3 separate regions of the Homo sapiens genome follow, and all the other regions are linked to region 3. Evidence: promoter capture Hi-C in 16 types of primary human blood cells and fetal thymus (Javierre and others, 2016). All regions are on one chromosome and are shown on one strand. The core of a region is centred on a gene start or on the middle of the fragment in contact, and the rest is flanking DNA. Distances in the headings are between cores, read along the strand shown. Region 1 overlaps FAM221B (family with sequence similarity 221 member B). Region 2 overlaps CA9 (carbonic anhydrase 9). Region 3 holds the start of ATOSB (atos homolog B).

What was found. Contacts are between HindIII fragments. The CHiCAGO score rates a contact against its expected background, and 5 or more counts as called.
Region 1: a fragment that was not itself captured here is called in contact with the fragment with the promoter of ATOSB in region 3 in 2 of 17 cell types (neutrophils and total CD8 T cells); the score reaches 5.9 in neutrophils.
Region 2: a contact is called between a fragment that was not itself captured here and the fragment with the promoter of ATOSB in region 3, in 1 of 17 cell types (neutrophils). The highest score is 5.4, in neutrophils.

The regions. Positions count from the first base shown.
Region 1 is chr9:35,819,754-35,823,055 of GRCh38, reverse strand. It overlaps FAM221B (family with sequence similarity 221 member B), which reads left to right. Exons shown (of 7, transcript NM_001012446.4): 4 at 3,056-3,166. Among named protein-coding and RNA genes, the nearest start is that of HINT2, 6.4 kb to the right of the region's middle. The HindIII fragment of the contact is 6,407 bases long and covers 1-3,302 here.
Region 2 is chr9:35,678,186-35,681,495 of GRCh38, reverse strand. CA9 (carbonic anhydrase 9) reads right to left here. Exons shown (of 11, transcript NM_001216.3): 7 at 2,154-2,311; 8 at 1,498-1,642; 9 at 1,357-1,383; 10 at 662-743; 11 at 337-531. The coding sequence ends at 471. Among named protein-coding and RNA genes, the nearest start is that of CA9, 5.9 kb to the right of the region's middle. The HindIII fragment of the contact is 1,194 bases long and covers 1,171-2,364 here.
Region 3 is chr9:35,114,539-35,117,781 of GRCh38, reverse strand. It overlaps ATOSB (atos homolog B), which reads left to right and starts at 1,920. Exons shown (of 9, transcript NM_025182.4): 1 at 1,920-1,977. RefSeq lists a silencer at 1,716-1,775 and an enhancer at 3,109-3,243. The HindIII fragment of the contact is 12,182 bases long and covers 1-3,243 here.

The sequences.
Region 1 (3,302 bases), core at 546-3,045, 710 kb before region 3:
AATGCACTATGCCTGATGCATAGAGTGGTGGGGAGAAGAGCCCACTCTGCTCTAGAAGGGCAGAATTGTGCAGGAATTTCTGTGCCAAGTTAAAAGCTAGAATTATATCCTGAGGGCAACTGAGAGTCACTAGAAGGTTTTAAGTAGGACAATAACATGAACGAATTTCTGTTTCTGCAAGATCACTCTGGCAATAGGGTAGACTGGAGAAAGACAAGACTGGAGTTGTGAGGCTAAGAGAGGAGGTATGGAAAGGCAAGTGAATACATTGTGAGGCACTGGTCATAACCAGGAAAGAAGTAGATGGGCTTAGGTGGAGAGAAGTGGACAGGTTCAAGAAATGCTAACAGGCCGAGCGCAGCGGCTACCACCTGTAATCCCAGCACTTTGGGAGGCCAAGGGGTGGATCACCTGAGGCTAGGAGCTCGAGACCAGCCTGGACAACATGGTGAAACCCCGTCTCTATTAAAAATACAAAAAATTAGCCGGGTGTGGTGGCGGACACCTGTAATCCCAGCTACTTGGGAGGCTGAGGCAGGAGAATTGCTTGAACCCAGGAGGTGGAGGTTGCAGTGAGCCGAGGTTGCACCACTGCACTCCAGCCTAGGCAACAGAGCGAGACTCTGTCAAAAAAGAAAGAAAAGAAACAAGAAAAGTAGGGAAAAGAAAAGAAAAGCTAACAAAGTGAAACTGACCATTGGAACAGTGGATGTATAGGATAAGAGAGAGGGAAATGCCTGGAGTGCCACCAGTTTTTGGCATAAGTAAGTGGTAGGATAATGGTGCCATTAACTGAATGCCTAGAAAAGGGTAGATGCTTGGTAGGCATGTGTTGGATGAACAGAGGACAAAGGATGAGAGCCAGGTTTGGAGGGAATAATTGGGCATAAGACATTTGAAGTGCTTATGAAACATGCTGGCCCAAGAGTCTAGTAGACAGCTGGCTATATGGGTCTGAAGCTCAGGAGAGAGGGCTAGGCTGGAGACATTGTTCCTGTAAAGACAGCCATGTGTTTTATGGAGACATACTATGCATAAAGAGATGTCATCATGCAAATGTGATTATGTGATTGTGGAACTGGACTGTGTTAGACAGAATCAAAATGGCATCCCAAATAATGTCTCCTCCCCCGCCAGGCCTTGTCCACCCACAACAGGAAGGGAGTTTGGAATCAGGACAGAGAGTAGAGGGTCCCACTGGAATCCACAGCCACCTTCCAATTGTCCCACTTTAAGAGCACTAACACTTGTAACAGAATCTGAAGTATAGTTGCCAGTCTCCCTGTTCAAACTCCAGTCTTCTTCATCTGAATGCTGGGCACTGATTCCTACACTAGTGCTTGGACTTGACTGCCCCCCGGCCCTCCGAGCAGGCCTTGATCTTTGGGCCTCACCTCCTGCTTTTTTAATGTATCCTGCTACTCCAGACAGAATTCGGAACTCCTCTAGTGGAATCCTGGCTCCCGCCCACCTGCATTGTGACTGCCTATACCTTGCTCTCTCAACAAAGCCTCCCTGGTGTAAGGGGGCACTGGCACTACAGGCAATCAGCATCAAGACAGAAGAAGCAAAGCCAAAAGCCACATCTAGACAGGCTTTAGATCCTGACAGACTATGGGTAAGACAAGAAAACTTAATCTGAGGCACGGAATTGTGAATTGTGGCCCTGACCACAGTCAAAGACCAGATGATGCCACTCTCCTTATTCATGTTATGGAACCTCAGGGTTATGCCTGAATACTGGCTCTCTCTTCCTCTTGAAGGAATGAGCTCAATTGTTTAATCAGGCAATCTACGTTCTCTCAGCAACCATTTTGTGCCAGGCCTTGTGCTAGGATGAGAGATACGGGTGAAAAGACAGCTCCCTTGAAGAACTCATGGACTAATAGGAATACAAGGGAATGATCTATTATAATGCAGTGTACTGCAACAGGAGTAGCACAAGGAGCTATGGATGGCAATAGGAGGGGCCCAGACAGACAGGGGAAGTCAGGGACACCTTTTTGGTGGAGGTGACATTTCAGTTGAGCCTTTAATTGGGACTAAGAATCCTACACCTGGCAGTCCCACTGCATGGGGCCTCATACAGGATTCTTGGCTAGAAGTTGGGGTACTCTCAGTTCTCATGGAGAATGAGAAAATCTGAATTGGAGGTGCCATCTGGTTATCCTCCCTCAGTTGCACAGCACCACCCTCACCTCAAGACTAGTCACGAAGCCAGGGATTCAGACCTCACTGCTGAACACCAGCTCTCGAGGGTTGTGACCTCTTGCTGGTGCCTACTCTCAGGGACACTTCTTAGCCTCACTTTCCTTTCCACGCCTCCTTGCTTAGCCTCAAAATATATAATTTTTGGTCTTCACCACTCATGACTGCTACCTACCCCTTTCTCCTGACCCTTGAAGAACCTTTGGCAGCCCTTCTTAGGTACACAGAGAGCATTGGTACAATAGCACCAGGAACACAGAGGGAGGTATTAAGGTACCAACGTGGAGACGTGAGAGGAAGCCCTCCTCCTACCTTCCAGCACCAGAGCTATCCAACCTCCTTCTCCTCTTCAGGACCTTCAATAAATATGCTCCTTAGGAGCCAATCCCATTGTCTGTACATCTGGCCAATCATCTTCCCTTTCCCTCACCTTAGACACTTCAAGAAAACAAAGCAAAGTTGGGCTTTAGTGGGATGAGGAGAGGAGATGAGAATCCCTGTGGTCACAGAGAACTCAGTGAGATTCATGTTCATCCTCAAACAAAATTTCATCTATAATCTTCCTGCTCAGAAACCACTCTCTTGAGTCATCTCTGGCAGGCTGACAAAGATGGAGTAGATCCTGGGTAGGAAGAGAACTGAAGACACTTCTGGGGTAATGAGAAAACCCTGAGGAAAAAGAAAATCTAAGGGGTAGAGGTGAGGACTTCCAGGTGGAGATAAAGATACCTGGGGGTGGGGAGAGGTAAGTTCCCCCCACCCCCTCACCTCCATCAAGGGATAGGTAAGAACACTTCGGGGGAGCTTAGAATTTTTTTACTTCTCACTTTTAATCCTGCATACCTAGGTCTCTACATTGGCTGGCGCTGCCCCCATTACCTATGGGACTGTTTCCGGATTGGGGATGAGTCCAGATGCTTTTGTGGACACTTGTTGAGAGAGCACCGGATCATCTCAGGTAGGGGAGAACTGACCAGCCCCTCTCGAGTGTGGAGGAATAACTGTACTCTGTCATGTCTTGGGAAGTATGAGAGAGAGCATGTGGCTGGGCACGGTGGCTCACCCCTGTAATCCCAGCACTTTGGGAGGCGGAG
Region 2 (3,310 bases), core at 518-3,017, 560 kb before region 3:
CTAATCCTGTGCATTGTTCTTATCTTACATGGGAAGAAACTTGGTGATTAAGATTTTGAGATGGGATGATTATCCTTGGTTATCTAGTTAGGCCCAGTGTAATCCCAAGGGTTCTTGAGGAGACAAGGAGGTCAAATGTGGAGGTAGGAGTTGTGACAATGGGAGCAAGAGATTGGAGTGATGTGTGGAAGGAGGAACAAGCCCTACTGACATCTGACTGCTGACCTCCGAACTGTAATAGAATAAATGCATTACCACTAAATTCGTGCTAATAACAGTAATAGGAAATTCAAATACCATCCTTCTGATTTGGGGAACAAAGGTGACTAACACATATTTTATTATAAATATTTATTTTAAAAAATTTCTTGGCAGTTAAAAGGAAGTGGCATAATGAGCAGGACAGGACAGTTACCGGCTCCCCCTCAGATGCCTCTGGCTGGCTTCTCACATTCTCCAAGATCCAGCCTCTAGGCTCCAGTCTCGGCTACCTCTGCTGGGCGGTAGCTCACACCCCCTTTGGTTCCCCTTCTGTGTGTACACAACAGGAAAGGCTAATCAGAAAACTGGCCCAGGAGCAGCTCATTTGCATGCGCTTTGCATGAAGTGACTCCACAAGGGTGGGGGAAGCTTGTGCCTGAAGAAAGGGTCAGTGTAATACCTGTGCTGCCTTCTCATCTGCACAAGGAACGCGACGCTGGTGACAGCAAAAAGGAGGCCAAAAACCAGGGCTAGGATGTCACCTGCGATGGAGAGCAGAGAGGGCTGCTTTGGGAAGGAAGAGGGGTCTGCAGAGTTCCTCAACACCTGCCTCAGTGCACTCCACCACCCCTGCCCCGAGTTCTCAGGCAGCCCCTAGTGCCTCAGTCTCCAGAAGAGGCCAGCCAAGGGATGAGGGTGGATACACGAGAAGGGGTAAGATAAGCACCGTTTTTGCTTCCTAAAAGCCAAGTAAAAGGGCCGTTTGGGGCCAGGCACAGTGGCTCATGCCTACAGTCCCAGTGCTTTGAGAAGCTAAGGTGAAAGGATTGCCTGAGCCTAGGAGTTCGAGGCTGCAGTGAGCTATGATCGTGCCACAACACCCCAGCCTGGGCAACAGAGTGAGACCCTATCTTTAAAAAAAGGGGGGGGATTGTTTTGCGAGAGGGATGCTGGGAGATTTCTCAAGCTTCATTCTAATCAATTAGCCTCTGGGGACAATGGGGGAATCCCCACCATGATCTGCCTCTCTAATATTGGGGTTGGGGTCTGTTCTGCAGAAAAGGAGAGGGAGCAGAGGCGGTCCTGAGCAGCCCTGGGGCTGAATGGTGCTGAGGAGTCTCCTGGCATCAGGACCAAGAGGAGGGGCAGACTCACCAGCAGCCAGGCAGGAATTCAGCTGGACTGGAGAGAAAAAGGAGATGTGAGAGGCGGGCTGTGACCACCAATGACAGACACTGGCACACACATGGGAGGATAAGGGACTACTGGCTGGGGGGAAACCAGACAAAGCTGTACCTGGCTCAGCAGCCCGAGGACTGCTGTCCACTCCAGCAGGGAAGGAGGCCTCAATCACTCGCCCATTCAAAGGCTGCGTCGCTCGGAAGTTCAGCTGTAGCCGAGAGTCACCAGGTCCCCACAGGGTGTCAGAGAGGGTGTGGAGCTAGGGAGGTCAGTGGACAGTGTGGGTGGGTTCATGGCATGACAGGAAACAAGGGTCCCAGGCCAGCTCACAACCAGCACCTCAGGGCTCCACCCTCCAGCTCCTGTATTCCCCATCCAGCCTCTTGATTTCTTTTATAAATAAATAAATGTATCCTAAAGATGGTAGGCAGTGGTGGGATCATAGCTCACTGCAGTCTCAAACTCCTGGAATCAAGCGATCTTCCCACCTCAGCCTCCTTGAGTAGCTGGGACTAGGCGCATACCACCATGCCCGGCTATTTTTGGTTTTGTTGGGGTTTTTTTGGTAGAGATGGGGTCACACTATGTTGCCCCGCCTTGTCTTGAACTCCTGGGCTCAAACCATTCTCCCACCTCAGCCTCCCAACGTGGTGGGATTATAGGCGTAAGCCACAGAGCCCAGCCTTGATTTCTTTCTTCTCCTGTTTCTCATCTCATCTTACATCCTCTTTCCCCCGCACCCACTGTGTCCACACACACCCCAGGCCCACCTGCTTAGCACTCAGCATCACTGTCTGGTTAAACACAGTCCAGATGACACCCTGGGCACAGGGCGGTGTAGTCAGAGACCCCTCATATTGGAAGTAGCGGCTGAAGTCAGAGGGCAGGAGTGCAGATATGTCCAGTCCTGGGACCTGAGTCTCTGAGCCTGTGAAGAGGATCTATGTTGGGGTCTCATCTACATTGCACCCCCTTAAAGCTTCAGGGTATAGGGATACAGTTTCACCTCCCAGAAGCCAAGGTAACTCAACTCTGAGACCACTTCTTCGCTAAGTGCAGGCCCTTCCCATAAGACGTAACTCAAAAAAAAGTACAGGGCTTTGGAGCAACTGGAAGAGGCCTGAGGAAGCAAGAGAGGAAGAAAGAAAGGAAGGAGAGAAGGGAAGGTGGGAGGGAAGGGAGGAAGGAAGAGAAGGAAAGAAGAAAGACCGTCTGAGTCTACACTCTTAACTCTGTGTACCATCATAAAGTGCTGGGCCACAAGTTTAAGCCCAGAGCAAATTAAAAAGAAAAAATGAATCCCAGCACTTTGGGAGGCCGAGGCTGGTGGATCACAAGGTCAGGAGTTTGAGAGCAGCCTGGCCAATATGGTGAAACCCTGTCTCTACTAAAGATGTAAAAAAAAAAAAAAAGAAAAGAAAAGAAAAAATGATCTGAATAACTTGTAAATAAATATGAATATTGATAACTATACAAAACAGACACAAGAAATGCAAAGGCAGAGTTCTACCTAGTCTAGCAGAAACCTAAAAGGTCTAGTAGAGTAAGTGAGATTTAAAATGACCCAAGAGTGACTAAGAAGAGAACGATTTCCAACAAAAGTATTTACAAAGTTAAAATATTTGATGCTTATTAAAGATAAACAGTTCTCAGAAAAAGTTTAGCTCTCCAGACTTGACCTTGACAATTCCAAACACCATTTTTTGGTCTTGTTTTTTTTGTCTCATTTTGGTTTTTGCTTGGTTTTCTTTTTTTTTTTTTTTTTTGAGACAAGAGTCTCGCTCTGTTGCCCAGGCTGGAGTGCAGTGGCACGATCTCGGCTCACTGCAACTTCTGCCTCCCGGGTTCATGCCATTCTCCTGCCTCAGCCTCCCGAGTAGCTGGGATTACAGGCACCCGCCACCACGCCTGGCTATTTTTTCGTATT
Region 3 (3,243 bases), core at 671-3,170:
TTGTTCTAAAATTAATTTTTTAAAGTCAAATAATTTACCTAAATCTATACAGCTAGTAAATACTCAAAGGTATGAGACAAACTCATAAGTTGAACCCATAAGTTGAAGTTTGAAGTTGAAGTTGAAGAAGTTTAGATGACTTCAAACTCTGTGGTTTTCCCACTACCCAAAACCTTTCTTAGTTTACCCTTCTGGGATTATGTAGGCATTTGTATCACTGTCTAAATAATAAGTTCCTTATGGCCAGAGAAAATACTTTTTTCTTTCTTTTTTTTGCGCTTCCACACCACTGACGTTGAGTAAACCAGTTTAAGTTAACTACTGACAAAGTCACAGAGCCTAAAGAATCTGAGATTTGGCCGGGTGCTGTGGCTCACGCCAGTAATCCCAACACTTTGGGCAGCCGAGGCGGGCGGATCGCTTGAGGTCAGGAATTTGAGACCAGCCTGGCCAACATGGTGAAACCTGTCTCTACCAAAAATACGAAAATTAGCCCGGCCTGGTGGCGCGCGCTTGTAATCCCAGCTACTCTGAAGGCTGAGGCAGGAGAATTGCTTGAACCCAGTAGGCGGAGGTTGCAGTGAGCCGAGATCGCACCACTGCACTCCAGTTTGGGCGAAAGAGCGAGACGCCGTCTCAAAAAAAAATAAAAAAGAATGTGACTTTTGTAGAACTTGATCAAATCCAGACCCAAACGGTCCGCTCCTCGGAGAGGCCACAGATCGGCGCTGAGCTGGGCTGTCTCAGTTCTGCAAGTGTCCTGTGCTGCCATCTACCGGTGTCTGGGAAGCGTCGCCCTCCCTTATTGTATCTCCTGGGGAGAGGTTGGAGAGGGCGCCGCTTAAACTGCAGAACATATGTAACTGTCATGCAGTTCATTAGACACCTGTACAAGGGAAAGGCCTCACTTTTCTCCAGCAATTGCAGGCCCTCCTAACTCCATATCAACACTCATCTCGTAAAATTCACAGATCTCGCTGACCTGCCTCAGTAGGTACTGATCTGACTCCTACTGTCCATCCCATCCCAGAACCCACACCCGCCTGCACAGCGTAGGCTTCAGAAACTGCTCAACCTCGCAGACCTGAACCCCACCGCCCAGATTCCCTCATTTTCACAGACCCCTGAGATTCCTTGCACTACCTTGCAATCCCTACGGACCTCCCCTATTAGTGCAAATGCACGCGCCCACCCAGACATCCCTACAAAGAGGTTAGAGTTCCGGCGGCAGCTCACACCGGTGCGAAAGCAGCGAGATAGCCCCAACCCGGCTCAGAGCCCTCAGGCTGGTGGCTTTGGCCCTGGCTCCATCTCCCCACCTCTGCCCTGATCCGCTCCGCTCAGGCTAGCAGCCTGCCGGCCGAGGCCCCGCCCCTCTAGACTTGTCATCACAGAAGCCGCACGTGGCCGGGGTGGGACCTCAGGCGACCTGCGACCATCACTTTGTCTCCTCCTTCCTCCTTTGGGGCCGCCACCGCCAATCAGAGCCAGCGGATCCTGGTTGGAGTGCGACCGCCCGGGTGAGGCGTGAGGGAGAAGGGGCGGAAGGAGGAGGGGCTCTGAGATGGGAGGGGGATCGTGGTGGAAGGGTCTTGGCGCGACTTCTGCCAGGCTGGAATCCGAGGGGGCGGGTCCTGGTGAAAGGCGGAGAGACCGAGAGGAGGCGGGGATCGGGGGTGGGGCCTGGGAAAAGCTGAGGATCCTGGGGAAATGCAAAGAAAACGCGAAGGAGGTGCGAGGTCAGAAGGGGGCGGGGCCCGGGCTACAGGGGAGGAGCTCGAGAAATTAAACGAGGAAAGGGACAAGTCCACAGAAGGTGGAAGGTGGGACAAGGGAGAGGGTGGGCCCGGGCGTTGCGGGGGCGGGGCTCAGACTGAAGGGGCGAGGTTTGCAGGCGGAGGCTACAGCTAGGGCTGCTCAGTAACTGCCCCAACCACTACCACGTCCCCAAGTGCAACGGGACCCACGGAACTACAGGTGTGGGGCAGGGTGAGCGTGGAAGAAGGGACGCGGATGGGGGTGCGCTTTGCAGACGATCTGGAGACTGCTGTGTGTTGAGGGAAGATACGAAGTCGCGGGAGCAGTTGGGGACTCAATGTGTGGGCAACAAGGTGCATTCTCCAGAGGCCTCTATGGGGGAAGGGCGGGAGCGCTTTGTTGTGGGGGGGTTGCGAGGTACATTGTGAGGGGGCTGTCTCTGTCTGATGTGGGGGGTTGGAGGAGGTACATGAGGGGCAGGGGACATGGAGGTGCTTTGAAGGAAGGGGGGCTGTTTAATGGAGAAGGAGTGTAGCGGTGTCGGAGGGTCTGCGGGCACTATCTAGGGGAAGGGGTTGTAGGCCCAACTTGAGGCAGGAGAACAGAACCCCCAGTACTTTGACAAAGTAACAGTTTAGGGCATTGTAGTAACTACAGGAAGACACTTGTGTTCTGGGTTCTAAGAGCAAGGGTGTTGGGGTTAGTGGGGTGAAGAGGCCAATCTATTGCACTCCTGTCTGCTCAGCTTTTAACTCCGCCTTCTGGCCTGGGCACTCAGAGAGGAGTCAGACCCTGCTTGTCACTAGGGCTTGTGTGAATGTCTCCTCAGTCTATTTTGGATCTGTCCAGCTGAGACTGGGGTTTCTTCCCTAAGCTGAGGTCCCGGGGGACCCTTCCCCCGCTGGGTTCCTGTCAACCCCCCATCCTAGTTCCTGTTCCTCCCAGAGCCGGCCTTGGTCTCTGTCTCCCCCCTCCCCCGCCCTGCCCTTATGCTCTGGGTGTGCTCATTTCCCACTTCCTTCCTTGCCCCAGGGCCTGGCCTGGCCCTTGCCCATCTAGGAGCTGTGCCCTGCCCGGTACTTTGTTATCAATGACCAGAGACCCTGGTAACCAGCGGCAGGGCTCAGACCCCACCCCCACCACTACCACCCAGGTCTCTCGCATAGATCCCCAAGTGACTGGTAGCCACATTTAACCACTTGCCACAAACAGATTTTCCCCACCCTTATCCTTCTGGGTAGGGAACGCTAGGGCTTCTGTGGGAGGGGGGAAGTGGTGAGGAGTATTGAGGGTCTTCTGTCTGTTTTGAGAGGTGGGCCACGACTGTAAGCTGAACCCAGTAAGGGTTGTGAGGTTCCAGCCACAGCTAGGGGAGGAAGAGGGAGTGGCTCCCCACACTCCAGGCTTGGAAGCACTATCAGAACAGGCTAGGACCTAGTTCTCTTGAGGGCTCCTCTGCTTCCCTGAGGGGATTTGATGGAGTGC